Linked DNA regions of Homo sapiens: all the other regions are linked to region 1. The links are contacts of gene promoters, found by promoter capture Hi-C in blood cells and fetal thymus (Javierre and others, 2016). All regions are on one chromosome and are shown on one strand. Each heading gives the region's core, a stretch centred on a gene start or on the middle of the fragment in contact. The rest is flanking DNA. Distances are from core to core; before and after follow the strand shown.

Region 1 (2,930 bases), core at 128-2,627:
TTTACTCAGCTCCAAAATTCGTGTTAAGACTAGGACAGGCTCAAATCTATGACAAACAGAATCCCCAAAGAATAACTTTAAAGGTTATGTAAATTTCTGGAGGTATCTTATTATCTTTCTATTAAAATGTCAACATATTCTATACTTTTTCTCCATCCATTCTGGCAAGACACCATGCTATCTTGAGATTAAGCTAAGTCTCCTGGTTCAGATTCAAATCCCTGCTCAATAATCTCTTTATGGCACTCTGGGCAGTGTCTTCATCTGTGAAATCGGGATAATGATTTTATCTACAGTATTGGGTTGCTGTAAGGATTAAATATAAAGCATACAGCATGTGCCGGACATAGAGCTAGCACTCCATCCATGTTAGCGCAGGATTTCTGATTCGTCAGCATCATTACTCAATAACTATCATTCGGCCCTTTTAAATTGTTTCAGCGACGACTGAATGAACTTATTTATAAATGTATAACATAACTAGGGATGAAGTCATACTACATTGAGGTTTCATTTCCACATAGATAATATTAGGAAGCAGCTATGCCAACACTTTTTCTTCCTGTGATCTGTATACTGCAGGGTCTCTAGAAACAATGGTTTGGTTCTTTCCTGGTGACAAAGGATAAGAGAAGATGAAACTGCTACAAATGGCAATAACTTAAAAATAAAAGATACAGAAATATATGGAAATGAAAAACATATACCTATACATACACAGCTGTTTTTAAAACATGACCTTTATTCTCGAAGCTCAAACTTGATTTCCAGGTACAGCAGGCCTCTGTAACTTTTCTTGGCAGTGAAGTCATGAAGTCTCCTGTCCTCTAAAGCTACAGAAATTTAACCTGGAAGCAAGCAGTAGGCACTACGCACAGCACAGAGGGAACCCTGGGGTGTACGCTGTGGCTCCCACCTGTCCGCCAGGTCATTGTGACGCAAACGCTATGGCCACGTGGAACACCTGCCGGAGAGCAGGGGCGGGGTCACTCTGGGCGGCGGATCCGAGCGGGGGATACCCCAGGAGATGGGGGTCGAGGAGAGACCCCGGGGAGTAGAGAGAGAGAAACTCACTCCCCGAGTCCCCGACCCTCCCCAAGCAAGGTGAGGTCAACGCCACCCACCTTCCCCCGGTCACCCTGGGAGGGGTCGCTCCGGCGGGCGTCTGCTGGAGGGTAGAAGCGGGGAAGGGAGGCAGCGGCGGCGCCCAGGCGGCGGTAGGTAGCCGGGCGGCGAGGGCGCCCGCACCCCCCGGCCGCTGCGCTGCGCTGCGGTGCGCACGGGCTCCGCCGGTTGCTATTCCGGCTGGTGGCGGCCGCCGCAGGAAGGGCCGGTTCCTGCGCTCCCCCCGCCCCTTTCCCTCGCCTTCGGCTGACGCTGACGTCGGATGAGTGATCCGGAGGGACGCTCCGACCGCGGCCGGGAGGCTCCTGGGGGCCGGGGCTCCGAGGTACCTGCCCTCCGGGGTCGGGGCGGGGGCGCGCCGGGCGGGCTGCAGGAAGCAGCAGGAGACGCCCGGCAGCCGGGACGGTCGGGGACGCCTGGTAGGAGCTGCCTTCTCTGCCCTCCGCGGGCGGCGCGTGATAGGCGAGTCGCCTCCTCGGGTCCCGGATCCCGGTGCGGGAACCGCATCAGCCCCTTCCCCTCCCCTCCTCCCTCCGGCCTGGGAAGGTCTGGAGGATGCGCGCGCCGTGAGAGCGTGCGTCAGCCCCGGGGGAGCGGTAGGGAAGCGTTCCGCGCTCCGGCCCCAGCGCTGGGAGCACCGGCACCCATGCCAGCCCACCCCACCCACCCACCGCGCGCCTCGCCTTCCCGGCGGCTCCGGCCCCAGGACCCCGAGCTCCCTGGTGGGCAGGGACTTGCGTCCAGGGTTGACTTGTTGACAAGTTCACCTGCCGCGGCGCCTGGTGTGTGCTTTTTCTCTTCCCCTCCGTGGCCCTTTTTTTGGCAGGGGCGGCAGAGAGCATATGGGTACCTCTTTATAACCACTAGTGCCAGGAGGCCTGAGCTTGGTCCCCCGGGGGCGAGGTGCTCAGCAGTCTCGGACTAGACGGGGCGAGAACCCCTAAGCAACCCCGGTTCCAGCAAACCCTGGCGCGCCCGTTTCCTTTGGGCGCTGCTGACTCCGCCTTTCCTGCTCCGGGGCTATTGCAGCTCCTGCTTCCTCTAGAAACGAACATATCCTGTTGTTATGTCTGCCTTTCCCCCAAAGCGGCTCTCCAGGAACCTTTCCCACTGTCTTTTTACTTGTAGTACCCCCAAAGCACCTGAGCTTCTCTTTGGGGTCTTAAAAGTATCGCGCCCTTATTCTGGCGAAGGGCATTAACTGCCTGGTTGGGGAGAGTTAGTTTGGAAAGAATCGCGTTCTCTTCATTTAGATGGCATTAAAAAATTAGCGCAAGAAAGGGTTTTGTTCATGAATCTTAGTAACCGAGATCTGGTAACGGTATAAAAATTATCAAGGCCTGGAAAATATGTCACCAGCTTGCTTGGGAGTGATACTGAATGTAGGAAGAAAGACACATAAGGCATTTATTGGCCATTAAGGTCCTATAAAATATGACTCATCGCAAACATGTTTTTGTCCATACGTTTCAGTGAAGTCTCTTCGGAAAATCTCAAATTGGTTTCTGTGGCCCTCTGGTTTGAATCTGAGATCTGAACTGTTCTGTGGTTAGGGAGTGAAATAAGAAATGCTTAGTTTGAAATCTAGGCTCCCGATGCAATTTCATACCCCCTGTTTAAAACACACACTCTCTAAAAATGCTTTTAAGTAAGTTTTCAAACCAAAGATATATTTTTAGATTTCAGTCTTTATTTTTGAAACACCCTTTGTAGAGAATACCACAGGGACAAAATCAATTTATAATCCTGAATAGCTCAAATATCACTCTTTGGTTTTATACTAATACTGTACATACATCTTAATT
Region 2 (2,930 bases), core at 110-2,609, 810 kb after region 1:
TTTTAAAAGAAACATTGTAGGTGTGGCTGAAGGTCCCTGCTGGCACTCCCCAATCCCACTGCCCTCCCTTCTCTCCTCACACATAATCATTATTATGAATTTGGTGTTTATCATTCTTTTGAAGTTTTTATAATTTCCCACACATTTTTATCCATAAACCATATATCACTTTTTTTGTGTCCTTAAACTTTACATGATATATCATTCTGCAATATATTTATAGTCAGCCTTATGTTTTATTTGTGTTTTTGTATGCCTCTAATTCATTGATATTAATCGCGTTATAGTATTCCACTGTATGAAAATATCTCATTTTATATTTATTCATCTTCATGATGGTGGATATTTAAATTGCTTGTCATTCTTTTTGCTTTTGCCAACAATGCTGCCACAAACATTCTGTTTCCTTTTGCACACGTTGGAGGACAAGTTTCTTGACTTGTAGAAGATAGACAGTTAGAGGTAGAATGGGAAGATCATAGAGCGTGCGAGTCTTCAATTGTGATACTACCAAAATCTTGTCCAAAATGCTTGTGCCAGTTTACCTTCCTGCTAGCAGTAGGCGATGATGTTCCTTTCTCTAAATCTGTGCAAATATGAAGTGTGTACAAATATATCTTACTGTGTTATACAAACTGCAAATATCTTCTCCTAGGCTCTGACTTATTTTTTTCACTTAGAGTACTTCTTAGTATACAGAAGTTTTAAATTCTATATTTCTATCCCTTTGTGATTTGTGATTTTTGAATATTATTTTAAAACATTTCTTGACCTGAGATTGATAAAGATATTCTTATGCATTTTTCTGAAAATTTTAGTGTTTTGTTTTTAAAATTTAGGGATTTAACCCACATGGAATTTATTTTTGTGTATGGGTCAATGTAGGGATCTATTTTTTATTACTATAAATAAACAAGTACCCCAGAATCAGTTGTTGAATAGTCCATCTTTACCACACTGATTTGCAGTACCACCTCTTTCATATATGAAGCTTCCATATTTTGAGTATCAGTGCCTGAGCTGTGTATTCTACTCCATTTGTCTATTTATATCTCTCAGTGCTATTACCTCCTTGTCTTGATTATAATAGGTTTATAATATATTTTGTCATCTAAAAGGAAAAATACTCTCATCTTCTTTCTTGGTTATTATTGACTCTAAGATACATGTTTTAGGGTTGGCTTGTCATATTTAACAGGATACCCCATTTGGTTTGCACTAAATCTACAGATTAAATAGCAAGTCTTTCACACCACAGAGTAAAGCTGTAATTTTTCAAGAAAATATTTGTAATTTTCTCCATAAAGGTCTTGTATTTTTTTAGTTAAATTTATTTCCAGATACCTTGAAGAAATTTTTATAATTGTGAATTTTTTTTCTATATCTTTTAACTAACTAGTATAGGTCTATAGGAGAATTTTTTTGTTTTGTTTTGTTTTGTTTTTTGGCATGTTGATTTTGTATCCAGCCACCCTGTGAAATCTGTTTGTGGAATCTCTTGCTTTTTCAGTCCCTATGTACACAATCATACTGTCTGAATATAAAGTTTTGCCTATTATTTTTTAGCTCTTCTTTGATTTTTTTTTTATCATTTTGTACTGCTAGGATCACTTGTACAATGTTTAAAAGAAATGACTTCAAAAGAAGTGCTTCTAAAATTTCACTCTTAAGTGTGATGTTTGCTGAAAGTTTTTGATAGATACCCTTCATTAGGTTAAGGAAGCTTCCTTCTTTTTTGGTTGTACCAAAAGTTACTTATTAAATATAAATGATTACTGGATTTTATCAAATTATGCATCTACTAAGATAATTGTGTTGTTTTCCACTTTTAACTTGTTAATACGATACATTACATTTACAGAGTTTTCAGATGTCAAACCATCCTTGCATTCTTGAGATAAACTCAATTCATTATGTGTACTTTTTTATGATGATCATTCAACTGACTAATCTTTTATTCAGGATTTTTGCTTTTATTTTAATAACTGTATTATCTGATTGGCATATAATAAATGCACATGTTTAAAGTATACAATTTGATGTTTTGAGATATGTGTATACCCTTGGAATCATTACTGCAATCAAGATGATAAATATTTCTGTAACCCTCAGAAGTTACCATCTGTCCTTCTATCCCTCTGTAACTTCTTCTATGTTCACTAATAGGCTTCCCACAGATCTGCTTTCCAATTATCTGCTAACCATTGATCTGTTTTTTGTCATCATAGACTAGTTTGCATTTTCTAGATTTTTATGGAATTATATACTATATGATATTTTCTGGCTTCTTTTAATGCAGCAAAATCTAAGATCCATGTTGTAGCATATATATGAACAGTTCATTCCTTTGTATTGCTGAATAGTATTGTATTATATGGATATACCACAATTTATTTATCCATTCACCTGTGTATAAATTTTGTTTTTTTCCAGATTTGGAATATTATAAATAAAAATTTTAAATAAATTTTATAAATTTTTATAAATTTTATCATAAATAAAATGTTATAAATGAACATTTTTATATGTGTTTGTATGGACATTTGTTTTTATTTTTCTTGGGTAAACACCTAGAAGTCAAATGGCTAGGTCAGAAGGTAGGTATTCATTTAGCTTTCCAAGAAATTGCCAAATCAACTTCCAAAAAAAAAATCTTTGCTTATTATTTTTTCTGGTTATAGAATTATAGTGTGCAGTTGCTTTTTCTTCCTTTTAGTACTTTTAAGATGTTGTTCTATTGTCTTCTCACTTGCATTGTTTCTGATGAGAAATGTGTTGTTATCCTTATATTTGTTTCTCTACACAACATGTCTTTTTTTCTCTGGCTGCTTTTGAGATTTCCTGTACATCATGGGTTCTGAGTGGTGTGATTATAATGTGCCTTAGATATGTTTCTTGTGCTTGAAGTTCATTGGTATTCTTGGTTCACT
Region 3 (2,930 bases), core at 271-2,770, 740 kb after region 1:
ATTGGTGATGAAGCATTTCTTAAGTATGTTCTGGAATTTTCTCCCATTTCATTCTGTAAGTTTTGAAGTGCATGTGCAAAAAGCAACTACTTTGTCATGACTGAACCTGGTCAACAGCTGTTATAAGACTCATTCTGATTTCAGAGTTGTTAAAATGAGGAAGAAGGTGCATCTTACAATTATCTTACAATTAGTAAAATATGCTATAAGTCAAATGTTTTCCTTTGCCTAGTAAAGGAGCATTTAATATTATTATATTATTGAGCTTTGATGTGTTATATAGAAGAGAAGGATCAGAAATTCTAAAAGTCCACTGAAAATATTTATTTTCTCCTTTTAACTGGCATCTATATATTATACATGTATTTTTGATGGGATGTCTTTTATTTAACTATGCTGAAATTTAATAATATTTTGTTAGCTAGCTCTTGGTAGGTATAAATTTGCCTGGAATAATTTAATAGAGAGAGCAAAACATCCATAAATGTGCAAGGTAAAATTTCTTTGAGAGTGCTCCAGTTGGTTATATACTGAATACAATTTGAAATGCTATTTGAAATTTATTTGAAATACACTTTGAAATGTATTTGAAATACAATTTGAAATGCTGCATACAATTTGAATTTCACTGTGTGTTAATATCATATTTCATTATTGATTCAGTGTGAACGCAAGATTTGTGAATGTGAGAAGGGAGATCCAGGTGATCCAGGGCCTCCTGTGAGTATACTTCCACTTTGAACTTAAGTCAGAAAGTCCTAGCAATGATAGCTCTACTCGCTCTTGAAAACATCGGGGCTATTTTGCACTGCTGAAAAGCAATTGTTTGGAAATGGGAGGAAAAATGGAAATGCTACTTCTTTCTTTTATTTCTAAAGGGACACATTCTATCCTTAGAAATAAGCCTGGGATTTTACTGACCTGAACTGAGGGCAGGTGTGTTTTGAAGTTGTTCCCACAAAGGACATTTATATTCCTCCTCATAAAATAATTGAAGCCAGAATTTCTCAATAGTGAAGTGAATACAGAAAAAGCTAATACAAATAATCAGTGCTTTAAGCAAAGCTTTATCCTACTAGAAACATGGAGTACAAGCCTCTCTGAAAGTTAAATGTTGGCTTCACACGAATGCAGCAGTGCAGCAGCAACACCGTGTGGCCTCATGGACAGGAAGCTGGTCACGATGCTTTGGGGGATTAGGGTGAGTTCTGTGAAATGGAAGTAAGCACATGGCAACCAAAAATAAATGGCAGGATTGACTATGATGATTCATTGTTTGATAAGATAATCCAGGAAGGAGTGCTTTCTTTATATTCTGGCCTAATAACTGGTAGGTGCCATGTCTGTACTGGGAAGGCATTTGAAATGACATCTAGATCACTGGAAATGCTGAGCATTTTTTTAACATTTATCTTCATAAAGCATTCACGTGCTCATTCAGTCTTCTATTTATTTGTATAATTCCAAATATCATCCTTAGAGTTCAGAAGAAGCCCTATGGAGAATCTCACAAAATGCATGGATAAAAATTTTCAACTAATGCTTGTATTTGGGGGTGGGAGGGGAATGTGTACTGTGAATGAATTAGAATGTGACAAATTTTACCTTGAGACTCGGGTCCAAAGCCTACAATTTTTCAAACCATCCTACCAATCAAGGGATGTTTTTCTCCCCAAATACAAAGTTAGATGCGTTATATGATAGTGGGGCAGCCAGTAGAAGCTGACTTTGGCTAAAGCAAAGGTTTAGCCATCCCTTCCTATAAAGTCTTCGTTTATCTCTATGACACCAAGAGATGGCCAGGGTAAGAAATATTTCTTTATATTTTAAAATGAGCAATAAGAAAGCTCACAATTGCTAAGCACCTGACAATTTTAGTCACATTCTTGTCACATTTTAGTAGGGATAAGCCACAGAATATGTTATTTAACATTATCGAGTACCCCCAACACCATTTCTCAGAAAAGCAAGCTTTCTGGTTGATTAGGAACAGGAAAACAAAATGCTTTTCTGGAACAGGATTACAGAGCTCCTTTCTCCCATCTTTTGAGATTGTCTCCTGGATATCAGAACCTCTTTGACCAAAGGCAAGCAAGCTAGCTTGGTCCTTTTAAAAGTGAGTGACAGAGGGAATCGTAGAAGTGACCCACAATGAAGAGAGATTGGGAACAACTCCTATCCTTCTGCCTGTTGCAGCTACTCTTTTAAATCTTTGCATGAGTTTGATTTTGTTTGCAAAACTGCTGAGAAGTGATTGTTTTGGGAAGAAGTAATTGGTGGGAAGAGAGAAACATTATTCTCTTTTGAGCAAATCTAGAAAATCTGCCAATTCAAGACAGTGGTTTTCCTGGTGTAGAAAAAGGGAGAAGAGAATTGAATTTCTGCTTGGCAGGTAAAGGTTTTACAATTCTCCCTCATTCTAGGAAACAAAACTGATCAGAAATTATTATAAAGTATAGAAAACAATAGAATTCCTACTTAAAATAATATTTTTTCCCTTTGCCTTCAGGGTACACATGGAAATCCAGGTATCAAAGGTGAGCGAGGACCAAAAGGAAACCCGGTAAATGAATAAACAGCTTTTCTTTAAACCAGCGTATCTCCTTCTAGACTTTTTTTTTAAAACAACAATTTTAAAAATAAAAAGCATTGTAGTATATGGCAAAAATGTGACAACTTTTGTGAAGAATACAGGATTTCCACTTCCTATATTATCTATCTTATTTCTATTAGCTTGAATTCACAAATTCTGAGTAACATATATGAACATTTTAGTCAGTAAGTTTAGGAAACCTAGGGACATTGAATAAACAGAAACTAGTACTTAAACGATAGCAGCCAATCTTATTTAGGATGATGATTCAGCAACTAGTAATATGTGTTCCATATCAGATTGACACTGGCACTTGTGTTTTTAATGGGTATACTTT
Region 4 (2,930 bases), core at 310-2,809, 720 kb after region 1:
AATAAAAGTGGTTTCTAAGTTTCCTTCCAGTTCAGAGATTTAACACTATTGTTTGTCCCCAATACAAGAAAAGTTTAAATACCAATCAGTGGTTATCAAATAATTCACCAAGATCTAGAATAACACTGTCTAATATCTGAAAGTAAAATGAACTAAGTGAAAAATAGAAATATTTTGCCATTTAAAGCAGAGTTTAGTCAAGGTATAAATAGATCTGATCTTTCTCTATTTGTAGGCTCTGCATGAAAAAGTTAAAACTGCTCTATCCATTGACCAAAGAAAATAATTAAAGAAAAATATTGAACATTCAAACCTATGATAGGACTAGATCAATCTACTTTCAGATATTTCTTAGAAAAAAAATTGTAAAACTTTCCAGATGGCACCTTGATTTATTTTTGGTCTAAAATAATTGCATTTAGTCAGGAATAAACAACATGGAAAGAAGAAATATTAATATTGAAAAAATATTTTAGAGAAAGAGATTAATAGTCATAAGATTGGTATAACGGGAATTTAGCCTGTCACTGTAGCCTATGAGGCACTGTGTGTTGCAAATGTGACACAATTATTCAAGCTGGGGATTGAATGACAAATAATGAAGCAAGAGATCTTAGGGAGTAAACGATATAAAAGATAATTGAGTCCGTGTTGCTGTACCCCGAAACTGCTCTAAACCATAAAGTTTATTAAATAATAGTAACAATTGAAAAATAGTAGAGGGAATGTGGAAGGATCAACTCAATCAGAATTTGGTGAGGGCATAGGAACTGAAGTCACGCTGTTCCACATTTAAGCAATGCCACATCCTGTATTTTATTACCAATGATAATTTTTATTTTCTTATTGTCTTTGAATGCTTTTAATCTTTCCCTTTGTTGACAAATAAGACCAATACAGTTTTGGTGTTTGCCATGGTTTGCATATTTGCCCCCTCCAAACCTCGTGTTGAAATTTCATCCCCACTGTTGGAAGTGGGGCCTGATGGGAAACGTTTGGGTCATGTGGGTGGATCCCTTATGAATGACTTAATGCCATCCTTGCGGTAATGAGTGTGTTCTCTCTGTATTAGTTCCTGGGGGAGCTGATTCTTTAAAAGAGTCTGACACCTCTCTCCCTGCTCTCTTGCTCCCTCTTACCATATGATCTGCACACGCTGGTCCCCTTTCACCTTCTGCCATGAGTAGAAGCAGTCAATGGCCCTCACCAGAAGCAGATGCTGGTGTCATGCTTCTTGCATAGACTGCAGAATTGTAAGCCAAATAAACCTCTTTTCTTTATAGATTACTCAGCCTTAGGTATTCCTTTATAGCAACACAAAATGGACTAAGACAGTGTTCCTCTAATTACTGATGAAGGAGTTGAGAGAATGCCTAGGTCATATTCTGGGTCCAAGGATAATGAATCCCAGAAATTTCAGAGCTTTGGGGCAGGTGTTAGAAATTCTACTATATCAAGCTTTTCTACTGACAAAAAGAAGAAAGAGAAAGAAAGAAAGAAAAAGAAAAAAAGAAAGAAAGAAAGGAAAGGATCTTCAAGAACAAATTTCTTCAAATCAGGTACGAAGGTCATTAATTTCTTCCTTGTTAGTTGGTAATGTTTTTTTTTTTCTACTCTAGATCAGCAGTGTGGGAGGTGGCTAAAATAGGGAGAAGCTTGTGAAACTATACTATGCCTTAATCTTGGTCAAAATATATAACTTTGATTTGTTACCAGCCTTTTTTTGTGTGTATTTCTATGACTTCATGCAGATACAATTCTCTGAAATATGTAAGTCCTAGCAGACTTGTCTCTTTTTAAATGATTCTAGGACCCCAAAATATCATCACCACTGAAATTAAGATGTTGGCACTGGTACTAGAATCAATAAACACAATGCAGATGCTACTATGGTAGCATATTAAAAGAATTTGAAAAAGTTGAAAAAAGATTTTCATCTAGCAGAGCTTTGGAGAAGAGCAATTTATTGTATCACAGACCTCAAGTGACTGATAAACACTAAAAATTACTTCTAATAATCATTTATTTCACAAATATGACTGCTTACTCTGGGCTATTTATAGTAGTAACAATGAAAATAGTGTGCTATATTTCTTCCATAAAGACTTTTACTACAAAATAACTGTCAGAAGGGCATGGGCTCCACGTTGCCTTTTTCTAGTCATTATGGTTATCCATGCTCTCTTATTTGTTCTGGTGTAAGTCCAATAGCATACTAATTCAAGACCATCTGTTGGGATTAAGATTGTGGTGCATTGTTTCTCTGGGTGCAAAACTAATTGTCTTTTATAGATTGATGAAACTGAAGATTTTATTTTGCATAATCTTCCCAATTAATTTAGTGCTGATTTTCACGCTTGAGAATGAGAGGTGGCAAATCTTTGGTTTGAGTTACCCTATTTAATGTTGGAGAATGAAAGGGAATGGATGACTAAGTTGGACTCCAACCTCCCACCAACTTTAATCAAAACAGCTCCAAGGCAGGAGGGCTTTAGTCCATTTCCCCCATCTAGGAATCACCTGTTTGCTTCTTAGTGGCATTATTATTCTGCATGTTTTTAACCTGCCTCAGCAAAAAGAGAGTTGACCTGAAAAGATGCTACTTCCTTGTCTCTTGATTCTCATCTTACAAAAGTAAAAAGTGTGACTAACACCCATAGGCTATCAGGTAAATACATGGTTGTTCCCTAGGAAATTCCGTTGTTATTTCTGCATTATACCCACCGTTTCTTCTTTCTGTTACCAAAGCCTCACAAAACTTCCTCAGTTCCTCGAAACCTGTTTTGTGAGGAGGAGACAGTGAAAACACAGACGTTCGCATAGATACTTAATGATGCAGTAGTTGTTATAAGTGAGGCTCACAGGTCTTACCAGCCTGAGTTAAAAGTTCATTTTGCCATTCTCTGGTTTTAGTATGACAGCGGACAAGT
Region 5 (2,930 bases), core at 1-2,500, 660 kb after region 1:
ATGTTGAACCAGCCTTGCATCCCAGGGATGAAGCCCACTTGATCATGGTGGATAAGCTTTTTGATGTGTTGCTGGATTTGGTTTGCCAGTATTTTATTGAGGATTTTTGCATCAATGTTCATCAAGGATATTGGCCTAAAATTCTCTTTTTTTGTTGTGTCTCTGCCAGTCTTTGGTATCAGGATGATGCTGGCCTCATAAAATGAGTTGGGGAGGATTCCCTCTTTTTCTATTGATTGGAATAGTTTCAGAAGGAATGGTACCAGCTCCTCCTTGTACCTCTGGTAGAGTTCGGCTGTGAATCCATCTGGTCCTGGACTTTTTTTGGTTGGTAAGCTATTAAGGATTGCCTCAATTTCAGATCCTGTTATTGGTCTATTCAGAGATTCAACTTCTTCCTGGTTTAGTCTTGGGAGGGTGTATGTGTCCAGGAATTTATCCATTTCTTCTAGATTTTCTAGTTTATTTGCATAGAGGTGTTTATGGTATTCTCTGATGGTAGTTTGTATTTCTGTGGGATCGGTGGTGATATCCCCTTTGTCATTTTTTATTGCGTCTATTTGATTTTTCTCTCTTTTCTTCTTTATTAGTCTTGCTAGCAGTCTATCAATTTTGTTGATCTTTTCAAAAAAAAAACCAGCTCCTGGATTCATTGATTTTTTGAAGGGTCTTTTGTGTCTCTATTTCCTTCAGTTCTGCTCTGATCTTAGTTATTTCTTGCCTTTTGCTAGCTTTTCAATGTGTTTGCTCTTGCTTCTCTAGTTCTTTCAATTGTGATGTTAGGGTGTCAATTTTAGATCTTTCCTGCTTACTCTCGTGGGCATTTAGTGCTATAAATTTCCCTCTAAACACTGCTTTGAATGTGTCCCAGAGATTCTGGTATGTTGTGTCTTTGTTCTCGTTGGTTTCAAAGAACATCTTTATTTCTGCCTTCATTTCGTTATGTACCCAGTAGTCATTCAGGAGCACGTTGTTCAGTTTCCATGTAGTTGAGCGGTTTGGAGTGAATGTCTTAATCCTGAGTTCTAGTTTGATTGCACTGTGGTCTGAGAGACAGTTTGTTATAATTTCTGTTCTTTTACATTTGCTGAGGAGTGCTTTACTTCCAACTATGTGGTCAATTTTGGAAAAGGTGTGGTGTGGTGCTGAAAAGAATGTATATGCTGTTGATTTGGGGTGGAGAGTTCTGTAGATGTCTATTAGGTCCGCTTGGTGCAGAGCGGAGTTCAATTCCTGGATATCCTTGTTCACTTTCTGCCTCGTTGATCTGTCTAATGTTGACAGTGGGGTGTTAAAGTCTCCCATTATTATTGTGTGGGAGTCTAAGTCTCTTTGTAGGTCACTAAGGACTTGCTTTATGAATCTGGGTGCTCCTGTATTGGGTGCATATATATTTAGGATAGTTAGTTCTTCGTGTTGAACTGATCCCTTTACCATTATGTAATGGCCTTGTCTCTTTTGATCTTTGTTGGTTTAAACTCTGTTTTATCTGAGATCAGGATTGCAACGCCTGCCTTTTTTTGTTTTCCATTTGCTTGGTAGATCTTCCTCCATCCCTTTATTTTGAGCCTATGTGTGTCTCTGCACGTGAGACGGGTTTCCTGAATACAGCACACTGATGGGTCTTGACTCTTTATCCAATTATCCAGCACTTGATTTCTATTAGATCCTGTTTTACTTTGGAAATGGACTTTTCTGATTTCACATGCCAAAAAAAAATAATTTGCTTCTTTTTCTTTTTTTTAAACTTTTACTTTAGTTTCAGGGGTACATGTGCAGGTTTGTTATACAGGTAAATTGCGTGTCATGGGGGTTTTGGTGTACGGATTATTTCATCATCCAGGTAATAAACATAGTACCCGACAGGTAGTTTTTCGATCCTCCTCCCACCTAGCACCCTCCAGTAAGCCCTGGTGTCTGTTATTCCTTCTTTATGACCATATGTTCTCAATGTTTAGCTCCTACTTATAACATGTGGTATTTGGTTTTCTGTTCCTGTGTTAGTTTGCTTAGGATAATGGCCTCCAGCTCTATCCATGCTGCTGCAAAAGACATGGCTGCATAGTATTCTATGCTGTGTATGTACCACATTTCTTTATCCAGTCCACCACTGATGGGCATTGAAGTTGATTTTATGTCTTTGCTATTATAAAGAGTGATTATTCTCTAACTTAGCTCAGCAATGCCTTTAAAGATCATATTCAGGCTCTCCCTAATTTTCCTACTGTTTCTTATCAGTTCACTTCCTAGGTCCTTTCACAACAATACACTTGCTCTTCCCAAACACCCCCTGTACTTATCATAATACTTACCAATCTCTTCACCCTAGTTCATGTTTTTTACACTTGGTCTGCAACCTGGACGGCTTCCCTGCAATCTTCATATATTAAATCTACCAAACTTTAAAGGACTGGCTTAAATGGTAACTTCCTCCTAAAGCTTTCCAGATATCCTTCAGATAGAAGTAATATTTCCCACTTTCAAAATTCCTAATTCTTTCCTTATATAATAGTCCTAATTCATGTTGGGGGTTTAGATGTGTTTCAGAATCCAGGATGTTTGGGATTTTAGAAAAAAGTAGCAAATATGTACACCTTGAGGGAAGTCTAAAGCACCCTGTAATCAAACTCGTTAGTATTTCTGTAGTGAAAGATGAATATTCACTAATAAATAAGAGAAATAAATATCTTAATAGCCTCACATCAATTCTGAACAGGTTTTGTGGTCAAATGAGATTACCGTAATTTTATTTTTAAAAGGCATTGGATTTTCAGATCTTTTTAGAGACTTTGAAATGACAGATAAGGCATTGTAGACCAGTATTTATTTTCTAGAAAATATCACTTATTTTATATTCGTTAACTATGCTTATTGCACACCAAGAGCTCCAAGAGGTTCTTTGATTTATTCATCTCAGCACATCAGCATTA
Region 6 (2,930 bases), core at 238-2,737, 640 kb after region 1:
GGGTGCAGTGGCATGCACCTGTACTCCCAGCGGCTAAGGAGGCTGAGACAGGAGTTCAAAGCTGTAGTGCACTAGGATCACACCTGTGAATAGCCACTGCACTCCAGCCTGGGCAATATAGCAAGACCCTGTCAAGGAAGGAAGGAAGAAAGGAAAGGAGGAAGGGAGGAAGGGAGGAGAGGGAGGAGAGGGAGGAAAGAAACAGTGACAGTGAAAAAACTGACCAAAGCTAACTTTCAAATTATAGCAGAAAAGGTGTAGAAAGAGGGAATTACATATAATTCAGGGCTTTTCCATATAGGTGTTTTTTTTTCCTCAAAGTAAACACCATTAAAATTGAGCATGGAAATGAACAAGCAGTGCATTGTAAATAAATACAAACAGTGAATAGTCATATAAAATCTATGTTTAACCTCATTCAGAATTGAATATATGTAAATTAAAATATTTTCAATATTTTCATCTACTACATGGCTATAAGTAGAAATTTTATAATGCTTAGCGTTGAAGGTGTTGGGAAAACAGGCACTTTCCTATGCTGTTTAGTTTATAGGGAGATAATTAGTTCAACTTTTGGAGGGCTATTTGTCAATATCTATCAAAATGTAAAATACACATAACTTTTGGCTCATAATTCCACCTAATTTATCTGAGAAATTAACTCACTCACAAGTACCCAAAGATTTATACTCAAAGATGCTCACTGCAGTATCATTTGTAAAAACGAATGGAAATACCCTACATTTCTATCAATGGGAGATATAGACATCTAATCACACACCATTCAGTCAGTTTTTAAAAATTAGATATATATAGGCTAATAAGGGAAACTCTTCAAAATACATATTTTAGATAGGAAAAAACCATTAGAGGAGAGTTTATGCAGTATGATCTTATCCAGGCAAAGAGAGAGAGGCAAAGATGAACGCAGACAAACACAGCCAGATGTGGTTTATGTAAAGAACATTTCCTTACATGTGTACAGACTTTAAAGCAGCTTTTCCTAGAAAGTGAGAGTTGGCGTTTAGGGAGGTGACACATAGAGCAGGAAGATAATGGGGCAAACTGCTAAGAAGATATTTACTTCCACTTTATACTTTATGTAATTTTTTTTTCTTGTGATAAGCCTGCATTTTTTCCCAATTTTTTATTGTGGCAAAATACGTATAATATAAAATTTACCAACTTAACCTTTTTTAAGCATACAATTCAATGATATTAAATACATTCATAATTATGTGCAACTATCACCACCATCCATCTCCAAAACTCATTTCATTGTGTAAAACTGAAACTCAGTATCCATTAAACAGTAACTCCCCATTCCCTCCCCTCTAGTCTCTGGCTACCACCTTTCTATTTTCTCTTTCTATGATTTTGACCAATCTAAGTACCTTATACAGGTGGAATCATAAAGTATTTGTCTTTTTGGTTAGATTATTTTGCTTAGCATAATATCCTCAAAATTTATTCATGTTTCAGCATATCAGAATTTCCTTTTTTTTTTTTGTCAGGGTCTTAATCTGTCACTCAGGCTGTATTGCAGTGGTGTGATCATAGCTCACTGCAGCTTTCACCTCTCAGGTTCAAGCAATCCTTCCACCTCAGCCTCCCGAGTAGCTAAGACTACAGGCATGTGCCACCATGTCTGGCCCAGTTTTGTATTTTGTGTAGACATGGGATCTCACCATGTTGCCCAGGCTCTTCTTGAACTCCCAGCCTCAAGCAATCCTCCTACCTCAGCCACCCAAAGTGTCGGGATTTCAGGCGTGAGCCACCATATCCAGCTCCTTTCTTTATAAGGCTGAATAATATTGCTTTGAATATGTATACCACATTTTCCTTATTCATCTGTCCAGGACACTTGAGTTGCTTTCACATTTTAACTATCGTGAATAATGCTGCTATAAATATTGGTACACAAATAACTCTTTGAGACCATTTCAAAAGATTGCTTTCAATTATTTTAAGTATATACCCAGAAGTGCAATTGCTGGATCATATGGTAATTCCTTTTTCTTTCTTTTTTTTTCTTTTTTTTTGAGACAGGGTCTCACTCTATCACGCAGGCTGGAGTGCATTGGCACAAGCATGGCTTGTTGAAGCCTTGAACTCCTGGGCTCAAGTGATCCTTCTGCTTCAGCCGAGACTACAGGTATGCTCCACCATGCCCAACTAATTTTTGGAATTTGTTTTTGTAGAGTTGGGACCTCGCTGTGTTGCCCAGGCTGGTCTTGAACTCCTAGGCTCAAGCAATCCTCCCACCATGGCCTCTCCAAGTGCTGGGATTACAGGTGTGAGCCACCACATCTGCCTGGTAATTTTATTTTTAATTTTTTGAAGAAACACCATACTGTTTCCCACAGTGACTTTACCATGAGCCTGTATCATTTTTATAATAAAAAGTTAGCTTTAAAATTATTGGAAGTTCATATGATATACATCATACTAACAGAAGAATTCATCTGGTCCAGTTCATTGTCTATGAAATATAAGAGTACTAGACTTCAGTGAAGAGACTTGAGATCTAATTTCAGCTTTACCATCCGGTTCGAATACCTCTCCAATTGTCCAAATTGGTAGTTAAGCTGAAAATGACAAACAGGTGAACACTGGCCAGTTGGCAGTTGGTGCCTAGAATACTACGCTGAAAAAGGATCTGAGGGAAAGTGGGAGATTGATGAACCACTTGTGCCAAAGGTAAAGAAGTGTGTGGTCATTCACCACTAGGTCAAGCACAACTTGGCCTAACCTGTCCATCTCATGGTGTCTGAAACGAGTTGCTGTATTTCTCATTGGAGAATTTTAACACATAGAGGAAGTTTGCTATTGGCTCACATGTAGAAATCTTGTTACTATGTGTTTTTCTTATCACCCAGTGCTTCTTACCATGACCATTTTCTTCCCATTTTTCAAAATACAAGTAAGTC
Region 7 (2,930 bases), core at 227-2,726, 540 kb after region 1:
AAAAATGACATACATTTTCAAACAGATGGCTTTATTCATGCTTACCAAGTCCCTCTGAGGTACACTGGAAGAAGAAACTTTATTCCCTTCAAAAATAAAGGCTCAAGTCCAAGTCAAACTGAGTACTTATTAAACACCTTTAATGTTCAAGACCCAGGGAGGTACTTCTCTGAATATGGAAAGGTTAGTGTACCACTTAAACACAGTACACTGATTTACCATCTCTTGTTTGTACAGAATTAAATAGTCTAGACAATTTAATTATTTTAATTGATCAGTGTAAGTTGTTGTGAACAATTCAGAATAAAAGCTCCAAGTACAAGTACTTTCTTTCCACATTATTCTTCTCATCTTCAGTTCACATATGAAAACTAAAGCCTCCTAAACTTAAGATTATAAAGTACTGCAAAGTACAGTAGTCACTAACGTGAAAAAAAAAACTACTACTTTCCATGGCTGTCTATAGCTCAACTCTCTGAAAAATATACAGTCGGTTTGAAGTCTTTTGTGAAATCCCTTGTGAGACTCTACTGTTGACTGTGGTTAGAATACATTCAAAAGTATAATCAGATTGCATCATCACCATCACCTGCTCAGAGGCAAGTTGAAGAAACATGTGCTCATGAGGCTGAAGCTGGCTTATTGTACTACACTCTCATGTGGGCTTGCCAGAGAGATTAGTCACCATTTTGCAGCTGGTTTCAAATTCAGTTGCTGCGATACAAGTGCAGATGCAATGGCTTACCCTAATTATATTGCTCCAGTTTAATCTTTCCATTTGTAGCATACTATATACTGGATCAAATTCAAGACTCTGGATTGGTTTCAAATAGAAGAGATTTCAAAATCACACATTTGTTATCCTCTCCTAAAGCTTGCTGATCATATTTCATCATTGTATCTGCTAGATCTTCTGAATTCACCCTAAAGGTGTTTTTAGCTCTCTAAACCATCACTAAATCTTGATAATTAATAAAAATGCAGAAAAAAACAGTTCTTAAAGCTTTTTTTAACACAATAAAAGGAAAGTTATGTCATCTCCAAAAATACTCATATGTTTTTTAAAATTTCAATTTTCTTCCTCTTTGGAATTAAATATATGAGCAAATTCTAAGGAAATTAATTGTAATCAGTGGTTTCTAAACTTAACTGATGGTCAAAATCACTTGGGAAGCTTTAAAACACACATACATTTCCCCCACTTCACCCTGTACCTGTTGAGTCATAATTTAAAGAGGTTTCTTTTTAAATTAATCTAGAAGTTAAATAAAGCTAATGCTGGTATTGCTTCTGAGAGTCAGAAAGAAAAAAGAAAGGTTCCTGCCTATCTCATGCAGGTCTTTTTAACTGCCTGCTACTGTCCATATTTAATAAATGCCATCTGTCAAGAATGATGTCTATACAAAGAGATGATGTAATCAGAAGAACTTTAAAATAAAAGAAAAAATAAAATCCTAGCATCATCAGATCCACAGAAGCTACTCAGATAAGAGGCTCCAAGAGGACATTTTTGGATGTGAAAAACAATGAGAAGGAGGACAACACACATTTACAATCGTCTTAATTTTGTAAGTATCTGTTTGAATTTGTTGGATACATAGTTTTTTCCTTCAAAATAACTTAAAGGTATTATTTTGAAGACACACATAGTCAAGTTTAGATTATGCATTTTTACTCCGTTCTTATTCATTTGTTCCATGCTAGTGCTGGGAATATGGTGGTAAGAACAGACAACCCATGCCCTCACTATGCATACAGTATCATCGATGGCATTATAAAAATATCAAAATAGTTTTATGGTTAAAATAAACTATAAGAAATTCACATAAGTATATTTCAAAATACCCTTGGGGATAAAAATAACACATTCAAGTTACAGCTGACACATTATTTGGAAAAATCACTCAAGTTCTGCAATTTCTTCTTCCCAAATTAATACCAGTTTTACTTTCTTATCTGATCTAAAATTTATAACTTATTATACAACAATGTGAAGTTAATAAGTGAATGGTATATCACAGGTTATTCAACACACTGCTAAAATTAAAAATCATTGTGTCAATTCTAAAAACTAGATTTCCCTAAACTCTAAAAGCTACACAACTATGACAAACAGAATCTACAGCACTCTGTGACTCTTAATATTACAATTAAACATCAAGTTTATTAATAGAAAAGTTTGGTAAACAGATTTTCACATGACATAATGTGTCAATTTGATAATTATGGCCAATCATAAACTTAAGCATAAAAGGTGATGGTAAGATAAAAACAAAATCTTGAGGACAAAATTTCAAACTCATGCTCTCATCCAGGCCAGAGTTCCTGAACTATACAATGACAAACTAACTTCTTTGTTAAACTGCATTTTACTCTTTACAAATACAAGTAGTTTTCCAAATACTCCATGCTGTTGATGCCCCAAAGTGGGAAAAACAGATGAATTAAATAAATAGAGGCCATGTTAGCCAATGTGATTGAGACCATTTCTTCATTTAATAAAAAAATCAGTTAAAGTGGGAAATCATAAAAAATACATGCATACCTTAAACATTTTACTTCAAAACAATAAATCATATTCATTTAATAAAGTAAATACTTCTGAAGTAGCAGAGTTGTCTGAGGTAAATACCTGAGGTTATCGTCTCACGCCAAAGAAACTGAAGGACGAGGACACACAAGGAGTGAGTTTAAGAGTGGAGTTTTAATAGATGAAAGAAACAGGAGGCTGGGCGAGGTGGCTTATGCCTGTAATTCCAGCACTTTGGGATGCTGAGGCAGGCGGATCACTTGGGGTCAGGAGTTCGAGACCAGCCAGGCCAACGTGGTGAAACCCAGTCTCTACCAAAAATACGAAAATTAGCTGGGCGTGGTGGCGCATACCGGTAGTCCCAGCTACGCGGGAGGCAGAGGTGAGAGAATCGCTTGAA

The links. Contacts are between HindIII fragments. The CHiCAGO score rates a contact against its expected background, and 5 or more counts as called.
Region 2: a fragment that was not itself captured here is called in contact with the fragment with the promoter of ICA1 in region 1 in 1 of 17 cell types (fetal thymus); the score reaches 5.6 in fetal thymus.
Region 3: a contact is called between a fragment that was not itself captured here and the fragment with the promoter of ICA1 in region 1, in 1 of 17 cell types (naive B cells). The highest score is 5.7, in naive B cells.
Region 4: a fragment that was not itself captured here is called in contact with the fragment with the promoter of ICA1 in region 1 in 6 of 17 cell types (total B cells, fetal thymus, M0 macrophages and 3 more); the score reaches 10.7 in total B cells.
Region 5: a fragment that was not itself captured here is called in contact with the fragment with the promoter of ICA1 in region 1 in 1 of 17 cell types (erythroblasts); the score reaches 9.1 in erythroblasts.
Region 6: a fragment that was not itself captured here is called in contact with the fragment with the promoter of ICA1 in region 1 in 3 of 17 cell types (erythroblasts, fetal thymus and M0 macrophages); the score reaches 6.4 in erythroblasts.
Region 7: the fragment with the promoter of RPA3 here is called in contact with the fragment with the promoter of ICA1 in region 1 in 14 of 17 cell types (M2 macrophages, neutrophils, total CD4 T cells and 11 more); the score reaches 11.7 in M2 macrophages.

What each region holds. Positions count from the first base shown.
Region 1 is chr7:8,260,614-8,263,543 of GRCh38, reverse strand. ICA1 (islet cell autoantigen 1) reads left to right here and starts at 1,377. Exons shown (of 14, transcript NM_001136020.3): 1 at 1,377-1,450. ICA1-AS1 (ICA1 antisense RNA 1) reads right to left here and starts at 1,319. Exons shown (of 6, transcript NR_125740.1): 1 at 1,125-1,319; 2 at 718-964. The HindIII fragment of the contact is 9,065 bases long and covers 1-2,930 here.
Region 2 is chr7:7,448,193-7,451,122 of GRCh38, reverse strand. All of the region lies in intron 18 of COL28A1 (collagen type XXVIII alpha 1 chain), which reads left to right. Among named protein-coding and RNA genes, the nearest start is that of COL28A1, 86 kb to the left of the region's middle. The HindIII fragment of the contact is 732 bases long and covers 994-1,725 here.
Region 3 is chr7:7,519,695-7,522,624 of GRCh38, reverse strand. It overlaps COL28A1 (collagen type XXVIII alpha 1 chain), which reads left to right. Exons shown (of 35, transcript NM_001037763.3): 5 at 664-720; 6 at 2,510-2,563. Among named protein-coding and RNA genes, the nearest start is that of COL28A1, 15 kb to the left of the region's middle. The HindIII fragment of the contact is 906 bases long and covers 1,068-1,973 here.
Region 4 is chr7:7,537,536-7,540,465 of GRCh38, reverse strand. It overlaps a transcript of COL28A1 not described here. Among named protein-coding and RNA genes, the nearest start is that of COL28A1, 3.1 kb to the right of the region's middle. The HindIII fragment of the contact is 197 bases long and covers 1,461-1,657 here.
Region 5 is chr7:7,598,990-7,601,919 of GRCh38, reverse strand. The region is part of intron 11 of MIOS (meiosis regulator for oocyte development); the gene reads right to left. Among named protein-coding and RNA genes, the nearest start is that of MIOS, 34 kb to the right of the region's middle. The HindIII fragment of the contact is 2,383 bases long and covers 59-2,441 here.
Region 6 is chr7:7,615,788-7,618,717 of GRCh38, reverse strand. No RefSeq gene overlaps it. Among named protein-coding and RNA genes, the nearest start is that of UMAD1, 23 kb to the left of the region's middle. The HindIII fragment of the contact is 5,558 bases long and covers 1-2,930 here.
Region 7 is chr7:7,717,153-7,720,082 of GRCh38, reverse strand. RPA3 (replication protein A3) reads left to right here and starts at 1,476. Exons shown (of 8, transcript NM_002947.5): 1 at 1,476-1,568. The region is part of intron 2 of UMAD1 (UBAP1-MVB12-associated (UMA) domain containing 1); the gene reads right to left. The HindIII fragment of the contact is 2,432 bases long and covers 1,177-2,930 here.